2 separate regions of the Homo sapiens genome follow, and region 1 is linked to region 2. Evidence: promoter capture Hi-C in 16 types of primary human blood cells and fetal thymus (Javierre and others, 2016). All regions are on one chromosome and are shown on one strand. The core of a region is centred on a gene start or on the middle of the fragment in contact, and the rest is flanking DNA. Distances in the headings are between cores, read along the strand shown. Region 1 overlaps ABLIM1 (actin binding LIM protein 1). Region 2 holds the start of DCLRE1A (DNA cross-link repair 1A).

Region 1 (6,558 bases), core at 1-2,500, 670 kb before region 2:
AAGCCTAAGAATCTCGTTTCAGTACAAGCTTATGCCTCAGGGACAATCACTGTCGGTTTCACATGCAGACAATAGTGAGTGAATGCAAAGAAATGGTACTTTCCTACCTGCATTTAAAAAAAGAAAGAAAGTAAATCTACTCCCCCTCCTTTTTTGGGAACATGGACTGGCCCATTGTGGTTGCTGGTGTGTTGAACTAGTAAGTAAAGCGAGGAGAGGAGGCGTGAGAGAGCGTGCCTGCCCGCCGCACACGGGGCTGGTTTCCGGAGTGCGTCTCTAGAGGGATGCACGTTGCCTTAGCCGAGCTTCGGAGAGAAGCCTGATATGTAACCCAGGCAGGTGGGAGCCTCAGTCTGTCGGGCTGAGGTCTGGCATCTACAAAGCCTCTTGGCCGTGTTCTGAACTTGAAGCCTGGAGGAGTTCTCTGCTCAGCACAGCCAAGGAACAGAATTAGAAGAAAAGGAACCCTGGCCTGAGGTAAAGCGGACATTGCACAAGGTGACCTATGTCCTTTGCTTTGCGTGGCAGATGTGAGATTTCTGGCTTCCTTCGTGAGGTCGGAGGCCGCTCGGATCCTCCAAATGTGGTGGCTGGATGCTGGCGACAGAAGTCACTTTTATTGCCCTGACATACATTTATGTAAACTTTTTGTTTTCCTGATGATACAAAAGAAACGACAGGAGCTTTTGTTCATCGATACAGAACTAGACTGAAGGGCAGGAAAGGCTGGTTATTTATTTCACTGAGAAGTGTAGTGCGTTGACCTTTTAAACAAGGCTTATGTTTTTTTAGGCTGCTACCCGCAAGATTGAAAGGAGACTGTGGTTTTCAGACTTTGGGGTTGTTTTGTTTTGTCTGTGGTTTGTAGAGCTCTGTGAAATTTACATTTGAGTCCTGTTTGGGGGATTTGGTGGTGGAAGTGGCACGTGGGAATGAGTAGATTTAGCTATTACTGTAAATTATGAGATTTTTTTTTCTTTAAGAAATACCCAATAAATGAAAATAAGGAAACAAAATGTTTAGATGTTATTCATGTTTTATTGCGGCTCTAGGTTGAAAGAGCTTGACAATTGCCTCTCTTTCCACCTTTGATATGCAGTAAAAGAAATCTAGAGATTCTGGCCTTTATATTGAAAATAGTTTTCCTAAAAACCCAGTTATTAATCGAATCATACTGTAAAGACTTTTTTTGGGGGGAAAGTGTTTTAAAATGTGCTATACTAGCATGAAAGAAGAAATGGGACCAGAAAGTTATTTCATCTGTGAAAAAAATAGATTTATGATGTTGGAAAAGAAAAAAAGAAAACGTGAGTTTGGCCATAAGCCAGCAGGAGTGTGGTCGCTATAGCAGCTTCATTTGTCACTTAGCTGAGATTGGAGACTTAAAAGAAAACTGAGCCTGTTTTTCTCTCAGACAGCCTCATAAGGAATGTTAAGAGGATGTGAAGTTATTTAGATTACCAAAACAGGTTCTGACAAGTAAGTGAAAATAACTCATTAAAATATAATTGTTGCCATTCTATAAATGGATCAAAAGGCTTGTTGAGTCACTGCGTACTTATAGAATAGGTGAATTTGCCACGGCTCATTGGTATAAATTACTTTTGAGAAGGCTTTTTAAGACTAAGCGTGAGGCCTTGCCAAGCATCCCTTATAACACTTAGAATGTTTTGACCAATGTTTTCGAGGCGGTTGCCTAAGCATTTTCATGTGTCAGTGAGTCTAATCCTCGCATCAGTGGCTTATCCAGTAAGCTCAGGGAATATTATATCCTGACAACAGAAGCCTGCAGATTTTTCTCTTCAACTAAACAATAGCTCACCTAAAAGGACAGAAAGTGAACTACTCAGTTCTTGTAACCTGACTTTCTGGAGGGATGGTCATGATTTTGGCTCCTGTAGAACAGGGTTTCTCAACCTCAGCATTATTGACATTTTGGATGGGATTATAGTTTGTTGCAGGGGACTGTCTATGGGATGTCTAGTAGCATCCTTGATCTCTACACACCAGGCGACAGTAGCACTCCCTCCCCAGCTGTGAGAACCAGAGATATCTTCAGACACTGTTAAATATTCCCTGTGGGCAAAATGCCCCTGGTTGGGAATCACTGCTAGAGGGAAACCTGTCTTGGGGCCTACTGCTGCCAACGAGGGGGAAGGGTCTATGAGAGGAGGCTGGAGTCCCAGGGAGGCCTGGCGGGGTCCAAGGAACAGTGGCAGGACAGGTGTTTTTGCCTGACCATTTGGTTTTTATTTTGTTTGGGTTTTGTCTGAAATCACATCTTGGGAATGGGGTATCAGATTCAAGGACTTGCTGCGGATATACATTCTTCTGCCCCCTTTTCCTTCTGTGCCCTTGTGGGACTTATTTTATACAGTGCTATGATTGGTATAGTAGTCAAACTTCTTTCAATTGAATTCTAAAGTGCATTCTGGGGATATACTATTTTGTCTTTTTTTAAAAAGAAGCTTATACAGTGATCCATTTTATAAAGCAAATAGTTACCCATACTTTTCCCTTCTGTAAATATAGAGTTTTTTGTTGTTGTTGTTGTTTGTTTGTTTGTAATGTGGGTTTTTAGTAAATCTGGCCATGCCTGTTAGTTTTTTTTTCTTCTAGAATCTGCAAGTGAATGCTTTCATTTCTTTTTTCTTTTCGCCATCTGTACCAGTGGGTCTCAAACTGTTTTGATTTTTTTAGGAATTGGGCCTTGTTTTGTGAGTGCAATTGAAGAATCACAGCTTTTTTCCAATTTACAGATAACGATGAAGTCAATGGCTGGGATTTTTTCCGTTTAAAATTTTTCTTACACCTTTAGCATTAATGCTACTGCTTGTTTGCTCTCAAAGGTTTACAGATTACAAAATGCATGAAGCTGCGAGTGCTGCTTTTTCTTGGTGTTTCTCCAAGAATATAGTACATTGCACTGAGCACCGTGACTTCCAGGAGCTACCACCACCACCCAAACCAGATGAGATGTACCACTGCATAGTGCTTAGTGGTGCTTAGCATTGGCTGAACAGATAGGGAAACACCTTGACTTATTGAAGTCTATTCTTGGTGACAGACCTGGACTGGCCCATAATGTTATCAGAGAGCTGTGGTTTCTGCTTTTGATTGCAAAGCAAATCTTGCATTTCTCTCCACCTGGAGGTACCAATGTGACACACACCATGTGCTCTCTAAGTAACAGTTCTTCGTAATTAAAATTCACCCTCTCCCCCCATTCAGTAGACCAAAGATCCCTGAGTGCAGCAAATGTGAGCATTTTAGGTCTATTTGCCCCCAGGATATAGCACAGTGCCTGCTCATACTATTTGCTCAGTCATTGATGAACAGACAAATGAATGTCAATGATTTCTATGGAAAGACCACCCAGGAGCTTGGTCAGCAAGCCACATGTCTGCAGCCTGTGTCCATATTTCTGTAATTTTTTAAAGAGGACAAATCCAGTCACCATCTAAGCAGGTTTTAATGTCTGAGGGGCTACCAGAAAACTCTTTGAAGGATGCAGGAAGAGTGGGTCTGTGGGTTGTAGAATTTGGGCCTTCATAAGGCCCAGAAATTAAATTTCTGCTCTTATTATAAACCCCACAGGTTAATGCTTCTTCATGGTTTCAATAAGATAAAGAGCACACTAACCATAGGGTCTGACCCAAAGGCAAGGTATTTACCACCTCTTTAAGAAAACTCGCCAGTTGAAAGAGCTTATGATCAGAGGTGAAAAAACGGCCCTTGTTGATCTATGTGTCCTGTGGGGAGTCAGGTGGTGCTGCCCAGAGAACCTACCTGGTTCTCTGAACCAGGTTATCAGGGCAAGGGGGGTGCAGATGGGGCAGATGTCTTGAAATTGGAAGTTTCCAGACTGTGCAGAATGTAAAGATGCCGTAGTGAGAGACAGAGAAGCCAAAGATCCTCTCAATCTCTTGCTTTGGTTCACAAACCAACCCCAGCTCCATGGATTTTTTTGTTTTGTTTTGTTTTTTGAGATGGAGTCTTGCTCTGTCACCCAGGCTGGAGTGCAGTGGTGCAATCTTGGCTCACTGCAACCTCCACCTCCTGGGTTCAAGCGATTCTCCTGCCTCACCCTCCGAGTAACTGGGATTACAGGTGTGTGCCACCATGCCCGGCTAATTTTTTGTGTTTTTAGTAGAGATGGGGTTTCACCATGTTGGCTAGGCTGGTCTTCAACTCCTGACCTCAAGTGATCCACCCGCTTCAGCCTCCCAAAGTGCTGGGATTACAGGCGTGAGCCACCGCACCTGGCCTAGCTACATGCTTCTAAGCAGAGCCCTGGGAATGAGCAAGCGTGAGCCTTTCTTGTACCTTAAGCTGCAGAGGCTTAAGGTGCAGCCTTTGACGGGAGGGGACCTTCATCAAAGAGGAAACAAACCCTGCTGCTTTATTATTCGCCAAGCCTGGAATGTTTTTAGCAAATACGTGTTTGTGTCCTTCTCAGCATTGCTGGTTCACACTGAGGCCATTTGTTGCTCATAAACACTAGATGAAGCAAAAATACTTGTTTACACTTAAGACTGCTTTTATCTTTCCTTACTGCTGAATAGTAATTTTTTACTAGATTGTCTTGGTTCTGTGCAGCTGGTTCCTTATGTCTGTGCTCATATCCGTATACCTTGTCCAAATAAACATACTTGAAAACATAGAGAATTGTGTTTTGTGAAGTTTAGAACATCCTCTAACAGAGTTTAAGCTGAGCTTTCTGCTTTGTTTTGGCAACTTGTTTAGGATGCCAAATGTATCTGGTCTGGCAACAGATGAAAGAAGATGTTGGCCCTTATATAACGAAGTTTAGGGAATAAGTGGGGGGTGGGGTGGATTGCCAGGTTTCCTTTGTGGTTTGAAAAGAGTTCTAAAGCATGAGGAAAACATGTGTTCGACTGGGTTTTTGTTTTGCCTTTAAACCTTGGAATTTTGAAAATCTGTTGAAATATCTTCTCCTGGCTTATGCAGCCCTCTGAGATTAAGTTTCTGATTACCTACATCTTCCCTCCTCTTTCATTCCAGCCCTGCTAGCCTTCTTTCTGCCCCTCAAGCACAGACACTGTCCATCTCTGGGCTTTCACTGCTCCCTGAGCCTGGCACATTCTTCCTCCAGATCTTGGCTTCCTTCTCATTATTCAACCTGCCTCTTTTGACTTGGAGAGGTATCCTCTAATCACCTAGCTAAAGTTGCTTCCACCTGCCCAACCCCTAGGCCATCTTCTCTCCCCTGGTTCTGTTTTAGGTTCTTCATGGCACTGTTCCCCGACTATCTGGAATTCTTATCTGCTTGTATCCATGTCTAGTATCTGTCACTCATTGCAAGAATGTATGCTTATGACAGGTACTATCATATCCCCGAAACTAAAACATCATCTGATAGAAGGTTGGTGCCCAATAAGAGGATGAGTGGATGGATAGAAGGATGGATGAATGGGAGGGAAAAGGAGAGGGAAGGAAGGAAAGAAGGAGCGGGGAAAGGAGGGGGGTTGACTACCGAGTAAATTTCTACTCTCTTTTAAGTCTAAGAGCTTCTCTCCTGTGATTCCTCTTTGACTCCCCAAGACAGTAGCCTTGGAGAATTTTCTCCCCACACCCACCTCACTTTGTACATTACACTAACCATCTTATCCAGTTACAGTCACCTGTTTGCTAAGCTCTGCATACTAAGCTCTTGAGGACAGGAATGTGTAATAAAGGTGGTTATGGTTGTAATTATTGTTTGTTCTTATTGCCTTAGCACTTTATAAGCATACTTCATCAAAGTCCTTTCATCAACTCTATGGCTTGAGTATGACTCTCATCTTTGTTTTGCAAGTAAGTAAACTGAGGCCCAGAGCAGTTGCCGAAAGGCGTACAGATGATTACTGCAGGGCCAGGAATTGAATACAGATTTCTTCTTGGTAGCGCAGATTATACAGCCTTTCTTTCCTCCTCATCAGGTGTCCAGTGCCTGACCCACAGGTTCATCACAGGCTTTTGCCAAATGAATGAAACCTAAGACCTCACCTCCTCCCTTCTCATCCCTATTATTTGAGCTTATACATATTATTTATACTATTTATAAACATAAACATGAGCCTATCAGTTCATAATCCAGTGACATCTCTAAGGATAACTAGCTGCTGTATCTTAAGTCACTTATTTTTATTGTTTTTTTAGAAACAGGGTCTCACTCTGTTGTCCAGACTGGAGCACAGTGGCACAGTCATAACTTACTGCAGCCTCAAACTCCTGGGCTCCAGAGATTCCCTGCCTCAGTCTCCTGAGTCCCGGGACTACAGGTGCATGCCATCATGCCCAGCTAATTTTTTTTTATTATTATTTTTTAGAGACAGGGTCTCACTATGTTGCCCAGGCTGCTCTCTTAACTCCTGGCCTCAAGTGGTCCTCCTGCCTTGGCCTCCTGAAGTGCTGGGATTACAGGCATGAAGCACCACACCCAGCCTACGTCATTTTTCTTTCTTTCTTTTTTTTCTTTTTTTAACCGATAGGACGTCATTGATTGCTTAAACCCTCTCATTCTTCTTATGTAAACAAATCTATTAGTCAAAAGTT
Region 2 (6,894 bases), core at 1,388-3,887:
CCTGAATATTTTATTATATGTTTTTTTAGTTATGAGTCACAGAGGTCAAATCTCATGGGAATAAAATACACTCCCTGTAAATACAAACAAGACTAGAAAATAAAAAACATTCCCCAAATCCCAGTTGATGGCCTGCTTGTTTATAACAGTGTACTTACTATATAACTACCTTCTGCACCAAAACTTTTTAAAATCATATATTTGTATAGATGTAAACAATCTTTTAAAGTTTGATGGGATAAGCATTCATGTACCCAATTCTTTTGTAAGAATTCCACAATATTTCAAATCCAGTATAAGATTAATAGCAGGAAAAATAAGCACTTCTCAAGGTGAGTAGTGCAAAAGACTTGGAAAGACACCAATACTCTGTTGTCGGAGGCAGGTTCCGATATACCTCCCATGAGATAACTGAATTCTGCCACATCCAACCAATTAACTATACATGTGGTTTCAGTGTCACGCCAGGACACATGCCAGCACCATCAGGCAAAGCAATGCTACTCCCATCCAAAGAAGGTAAAATACGTTTTCATTTATCATGGCAAGATATGCTTCACAAACATCCCTGCCGGGAATATCTGTTCCTTCATGCTCCAAAAGCTCACATGGCCAGGATTTAAACCCTGGAAATAGGCTATAATTGATTCCGATTTTTAAAAGTATTAGTTTCACGACTTTGAACGGAGAAGCACAGTACAGCTAAGAAACCAGCAAATCCAGGGCCTGTATAATCCAACTGGGGCAGTTATCAGCTGTGAGGCCCTGGGCATGTGACTTAACCTCTCTGTGCTTCCATTTCCTCAACTGTGAAAGGGGAATGATAGGAGCACCTCACTGGGATATAGAGGTAATTGAATAAGGTAATATCTCCTCAAGTGTTTAGGTATCCCCTCAAGTGTTTAGGACTGTGTGTGGCAGGCCGGGCGCGGTGGCTCACGCCTGTAATCCCAGCACTTTGGGAAACGGAGGCGGGAGGATCACTTGAAATCAGGAGGTCGAGACCAGCCTGGCCAACATAGTGAAACGCCGTCTCTACTAAAAATACAAACAAAACAAAACAAAACAAAACAAAACAAAACAACTAGCCAGGCGTGGTGGCGCGGGCCTGTAGTCCCAGCTACTCCGGAGGCTGAGGCAGGTGAATCGCCTGAACCTGGGAGGCGGAGGTTGCAGTGAGCCAAGATCACGCCACTGTACTCCAGCCTGGGAGACAGAGCGAGACTCCGTATCAAAAAAAAACAAAAAAAAACCCTGTGTGTGATACATGAAAAAGTGATCAATAAATGTCAAGATGATGCAGAAAGATGACCAGAAGACACTGGGGAACCAGATTGAATGGACAGAATGGTGTGGACGTTGCAATCATTGCCACCGGGGACACTAAATATTCACGGAGTGTCCACTTGGCTAATATCAGGCGCGGGCGGAACTCAGGATACACAGACGAGTATGTGGATCCCCGTGCCAGGGAAACCCCCGTCGGTGGCCGCTTGGGGACCCCTGGGAATTGCAGAACACGCGAACAGCGGCCCAAGTTAGGCGAAGGGCCACTCCCCGGGGCGCCAGCGGCACAAACCCGCCTAGCCCACCGCTTCGCGGGAGGGCGCCGTCCCCGAGGAAGGGGAGGTGCCGGGAGGGGCCCCCACCCCGACGCCAGCCCCTCACCTTCCGGAAACTCGGGTACTGACAAGTCCTGCTCCCAGCCGTCCACCTTCTGCAGATACTGGTAGACCAGGCTGTCCTTCTCCTGCTGGGTAACGGCGTCGAGCAGGGCGTACTCTAGCGAGGTCTGCGCGGGGAGCAGGCCGGAGAGGCTGCGGCCCCGGCCTCCGGGCGCCGCCATGTTTCCGCCGGGCTCCCGATGCGGCCGCCGGGCCCGCGGGAGAGTCTCGCTGGGAGAGACGAAACGTTCACTGTCCTGTGGTTTCCAAACGGCGCATTCACCTCACCCTCCACTAGCCCCACTCCACGCCAATGACACTTTTTTCTTTTTAAAGCATAGGTCCAAGTGCCAAAAGTCCAAATCGGCGCAGTTCCCGGGGACGTAATTAAACTGCCGTCCGACCCACCCCGCCCCTTTTCGGTCCCCACGCCGCAGCCGAGCCTGGACATTGAGAGCGTCAGATTCAACATGGAATAAGGCCTTAGGGACAGCGTCCCAGAGGCGCTAAGGGAAACATCCCCAACCCTCCACATTGGGAATTAGCGGACTTTCGAACACAAATAAAATACAATAAATCCGTAGGACTTAAAAGGGCAATGTATTTTTAAAAATTATTTTTAAAGTCTCTCTCTTTGAACAGCATCCGCCGATTCGACACGGCACTGGCAGCGGGAACTTGTTCCCGCCAAGACCCTAAAGGTAAAGCGGGTAGGGATAACCTCCAGAGAGAAGGCTTTGTAAACTGGAAGTGACTGGCGCGAGTGGCTTTCACTTATACACAAACACAGCGTTTTGTCATCTGGGAGTGCTGAAAGTGCGGGCGCGAACACATTTTTAGATGGGGGTGCCGGGAGGAGCGGATGCAGCTGGAGCGGCTCCCTTGGGGTGCCGAGTGGCAGGTGGGGGGCGGTGAGGGTCCTTGAGGGCGGGCCTTAGAGTCTTCAGAAGGGCAGGACTCTGAGGGCTTTTTGGAGCTCGCTATGCTTAACCTGGAGATGATTAAGGCCCCGCTTCCTGGCCTCCCAGCCTCTAATGCCAAAAGATAAGGGAGAGGCTGGCGTGTGACCCCGTTTTGAGTCAGGTGGACAGAGGGCTGGCCACCTTCGGAACCATGGGTGCAATACGGAGTCAGACCTCAATACAAGCCCACTCTTTCACATATTTGAACTTTTTTCACATATCAACTTTTTTTGTTCACTGTGCAGGGATTGTTCATTGCTGCTGGAGGAAGATCATGGACTGTCGCGGGAAACTGAAGTGGTTGAGTATCCACTAGTCGTGGATGAGGGCAGTGACTTCGCAGTTTTTTGCGAATTACACATCTCTTTGATTATGTTGTGACTAGTTTTGTTAGATAGTCATTTAGTGTTTGGGATACCTGTTAAGCCCTTTGTCCAGGGACTGTGGTTGGATTTATGAATTATTTGGACGGTTGTCCACTTGAAAGAACTGACAGTAGCTTCATAACAATGTTACAAATCTCGTTCTAAGATTAAGCTGTTGAACCTATATTTGCCATTAGCGCTTAATTTTTGAAGTATTATTTTTATGAATCAAGCCCTGGAAAAGGACAAGATATTTGAATGAAATAGCACCCATAATGGAGAACTTCACAGTTGCTACTCCTGTGATAGGTTTATCTTAGTTTCATTGTGGTATAAATGGAATAGCAGGTGTTGTCAGGTACAAGGTTTGTAGCTTGCCAATATGTTCATTACCAACACTGCAGATTCCCATTGAGTTGGTGGGGGTTTTGTTACCTTTGTTTTTTTTCTCAGCAAAATAATTCTATAACTTTTTGTTTGTGACAAGAAATGGACTTTCAGTTTACTTAAGATTAATACTTCTTGAATGATAAAATCATTTTGCCATGTTAGAAGACATTTCCGAAGAAGACATTTGGGAATACAAATCTAAAAGAAAACCAAAACGAGTTGATCCAAATAATGGCTCTAAAAATATTCTAAAATCTGTTGAAAAAGCAACAGATGGAAAATACCAGTCAAAACGGAGTAGAAACAGAAAAAGAGCCGCAGAAGCTAAAGAGGTGAAGGACCATGAAGTGCCCCTTGGAAATGCAGGTTGTCAGACTTCTGTTGCTTCTAGTCAGAATTCAAGTTGTGGAGATGGTATTCAGCAGACCCAAGACAAGGAAACTACTCCAGGAAAACTCTGTAGAACTCAAAAAAGCCAACACGTGTCCCCAAAGATACGTCCAGTTTATGATGGATACTGTCCAAATTGCCAGATGCCTTTTTCCTCATTGATAGGGCAGACACCTCGATGGCATGTTTTTGAATGTTTGGATTCTCCACCACGCTCTGAAACAGGTAAGACTGCAGAAAACGTAGTAGTTTCTAAATAATCTAAAAAGTCTTCATTAGGTCAGACATACCAATTCAGTGAAACAAGGAAGGCAAGCAGTAACCTAAAAGAGAGATGAGACACTGGGAAACACCATACCAGTCAACGGTATAATTGTAAAGCAAATGGCAGACTAGAAAACAGTTTAAATACATTGTGTTATTTCATAAAAGTTCCTAAGTATCTGGATTATTTTCCATAAATGTTAACTGAATCCTTACTATGCTGGGTACTTTCACACTGTCTACTTACCCAACTTTCACAATCACCATATAAGGTAGCTAGTATTGACATTTTATAGATGAAAGTTCTTAAAAGTCAGATAACTTGTCCAATTGGTTATTTATTTTTTTGAGACGGAGTCTCTCTCTGTTGCCCAGATTGGAGTGCAGTGGCGCTATCTTGGCTCACTGCAAGCTCCGCTTCCTAGGTTCATGCCATTCTCCTGCCTCAGCTTCCCGAGTAGCCGGGACTACAGGCGCCCGCCACCGCACCCGGCTAATTTTTTGTATTTTTAGTAGAGACGGGGTTTCGCCGTGTTAGCCAGGATGGTCTCGATCTCCTGACCTCGTGATCTGCCCGCCTCGGCCTCCCAAAGTGCTGGTATTACAGGCATGAACCACCGCGCCCGGCCCCAGTTGGTGGTTATTATGGAACTCCATAGAAAATTATAAATAGGCTGGGCACAGTGGCTCATGCCAGTAATCCCAGTACTTTGGGAGGTGGAGGCAGGCGGATCACTTGAGCCTAGGAATTCAAGACCAGCCTGTGCAACATGGTGAAACCCCATCTTTACAAAAAAAATTACCAAAAATTAGCCAGGTGTGGTGGGCTACTTGGAAGGCTGAGGTGGGAGGATCACCTGAGCCCAAGAGGTCGAGGCTGTAGGGCCCTGTGATCATGCCAGGGCACTCCAGCCTGGGTGGGGCGACAGAGGGAGACCTTGTCTGAAAAAAAAAAAAAAAAGTATAGATATAATGTGGTTTCTAAATATGGTTATGTTTTAGTCATCGTGCTATGTATACAGGAAGAGGAACTGTGAAGGAGTCCTAGGTGATTAAGATTCTAACAAAAAACGTGTCAAATGATAATAAAAGTATGCTATGTTTTTTATCTTTTAAAATATGTAATAAGTATTTAATGTAGAAAATCCTACTTGGAATACATATGGAGAACAGGTTGTTGTGATGATTTATATATTTTGAAATCATTTATATTCCATATATGGATTTTTTTAATCTGAAAAAGTTAAAATTCAGTAAAATAAAAAAATACTCAATATGGCTTTCATGTTAGCTATGATTCAGAATACATTTTATTATTAACCTGTAGTTATTTTAAAGTACTGCATGAAGATACAGAAAAAAAACAACTCTTCTTTAAATTTGGCATTAGCCTTTCCCAGAAAAGGATAGCAAGTGAAAACCTCACAAATTTGCTAGTAATTTTCTTTCATGTAACTTGAAAATCAAGAATGGAAATTGGAGTCCATGGTTGAAGACCTTAGGGTAAAATGTCATATAGATGAAGCCACCTCAAAAAATTTTTCTTTTGGTTTTTCACTAAACTCCTTTGAGTAGACTCTCAGATGGCTCTTGAATTAAATTCCATTCTATAACAAATGCTTTTAAGAGGCATTTTTAAGTTAGGTTGTAAGCCATGAAGTTTTCTAATTTAATATAACAAATATAACATCTTTTTTGAGGGGAGGGAGGTGTCATTTTTTGATAAATCTGGAAATTAACATACACAGGGATATACCAAGATGGCTTATAGAAAGTTTCTCAATCATGGTAGTATGATAGGGAATAGTTTCCAAATTAGTAAAGCCTTATAATTAACCAATTTCTCAAATTCTATTCTTAGAATAGAATCTAAAACTTGTTCAGTGTATCAACAATTATAACTAATCTTATTAAAATTGTTGCTTTTTATTATATGCAATGTGGATATTAAATAATGGAACCCAATTTATACTGCTAATGTTGTCAAAGCTTAGTCTATGCTTTGATCGTGTAATATTTTTTCTTTATTAAAATTTCAGAGTGTCCTGATGGTCTTCTGTGTACCTCAACCATTCCTTTTCATTACAAGAGATACACTCACTTCCTGCTAGCTCAAAGCAGGGCTGGTGATCATCCTTTTAGCAGCCCATCACCTGCGTCAGGTGGCAGTTTCAGTGAGACTAAGTCAGGCGTCCTTTGTAGCCTTGAGGAAAGATGGTCTTCGTATCAGAACCAAACTGATAACTCGGTTTCAAATGATCCCTTATTGATGACACAGTATTTTAAAAAGTCTCCGTCTCTGACTGAAGCCAGTGAAAAGATTTCTACTCATATCCAAACATCCCAACAAGCTCTACAATTTACAGATTTTGTTGAGAATGACAAACTAGTGGGAGTTGCTTTGCGTCTTGCAAACAACTCAGAACACATAAATTTGCCATTGCCAGAAAATGACTTCAGTGACTGTGAAATCTCCTATTCTCCACTTCAAAGTGATGAAGACACTCATGATATCGATGAAAAACCGGATGATTCACAAGAACAACTGTTTTTTACCGAAAGCTCAAAAGATGGCAGCCTCGAAGAAGATGATGACAGCTGTGGTTTTTTTAAAAAACGACATGGTCCCTTACTGAAGGACCAGGATGAGAGCTGCCCCAAAGTGAACAGCTTCTTAACTCGGGATAAGTATGATGAAGGATTGTATAGATTCAATAGTCTAAATGATTTGTCTCAACCTATTTCTCAAAATAATGAGAGTACTTTGCCTTATGATCTGGCATGTACTGGTGGTGATTTTGTGTTGTTTCCACCTGCATTGGCAGGGAAGCTTGCTGCTTCTGTTCATCAGGCAACTAA

What was found. Contacts are between HindIII fragments. The CHiCAGO score rates a contact against its expected background, and 5 or more counts as called.
Region 1: a fragment that was not itself captured here is called in contact with the fragment with the promoter of DCLRE1A in region 2 in 1 of 17 cell types (activated CD4 T cells); the score reaches 5.3 in activated CD4 T cells.

Annotation. Positions count from the first base shown.
Region 1 is chr10:114,520,579-114,527,136 of GRCh38, reverse strand. The region is part of intron 6 of ABLIM1 (actin binding LIM protein 1); the gene reads left to right. Among named protein-coding and RNA genes, the nearest start is that of AFAP1L2, 120 kb to the right of the region's middle. RefSeq lists enhancers at 1-218, 389-508. The HindIII fragment of the contact is 2,440 bases long and covers 31-2,470 here.
Region 2 is chr10:113,849,825-113,856,718 of GRCh38, reverse strand. DCLRE1A (DNA cross-link repair 1A) reads left to right here and starts at 2,637. Exons shown (of 9, transcript NM_014881.5): 1 at 2,637-3,996; 2 at 6,075-6,894. The coding sequence starts at 3,537. NHLRC2 (NHL repeat containing 2) reads right to left here and starts at 2,058. Exons shown (of 11, transcript NM_198514.4): 1 at 1,669-2,058. The coding sequence starts at 1,846. RefSeq lists enhancers at 874-1,578, 4,865-5,084 and a silencer at 1,589-1,948. The HindIII fragment of the contact is 6,407 bases long and covers 1-6,026 here.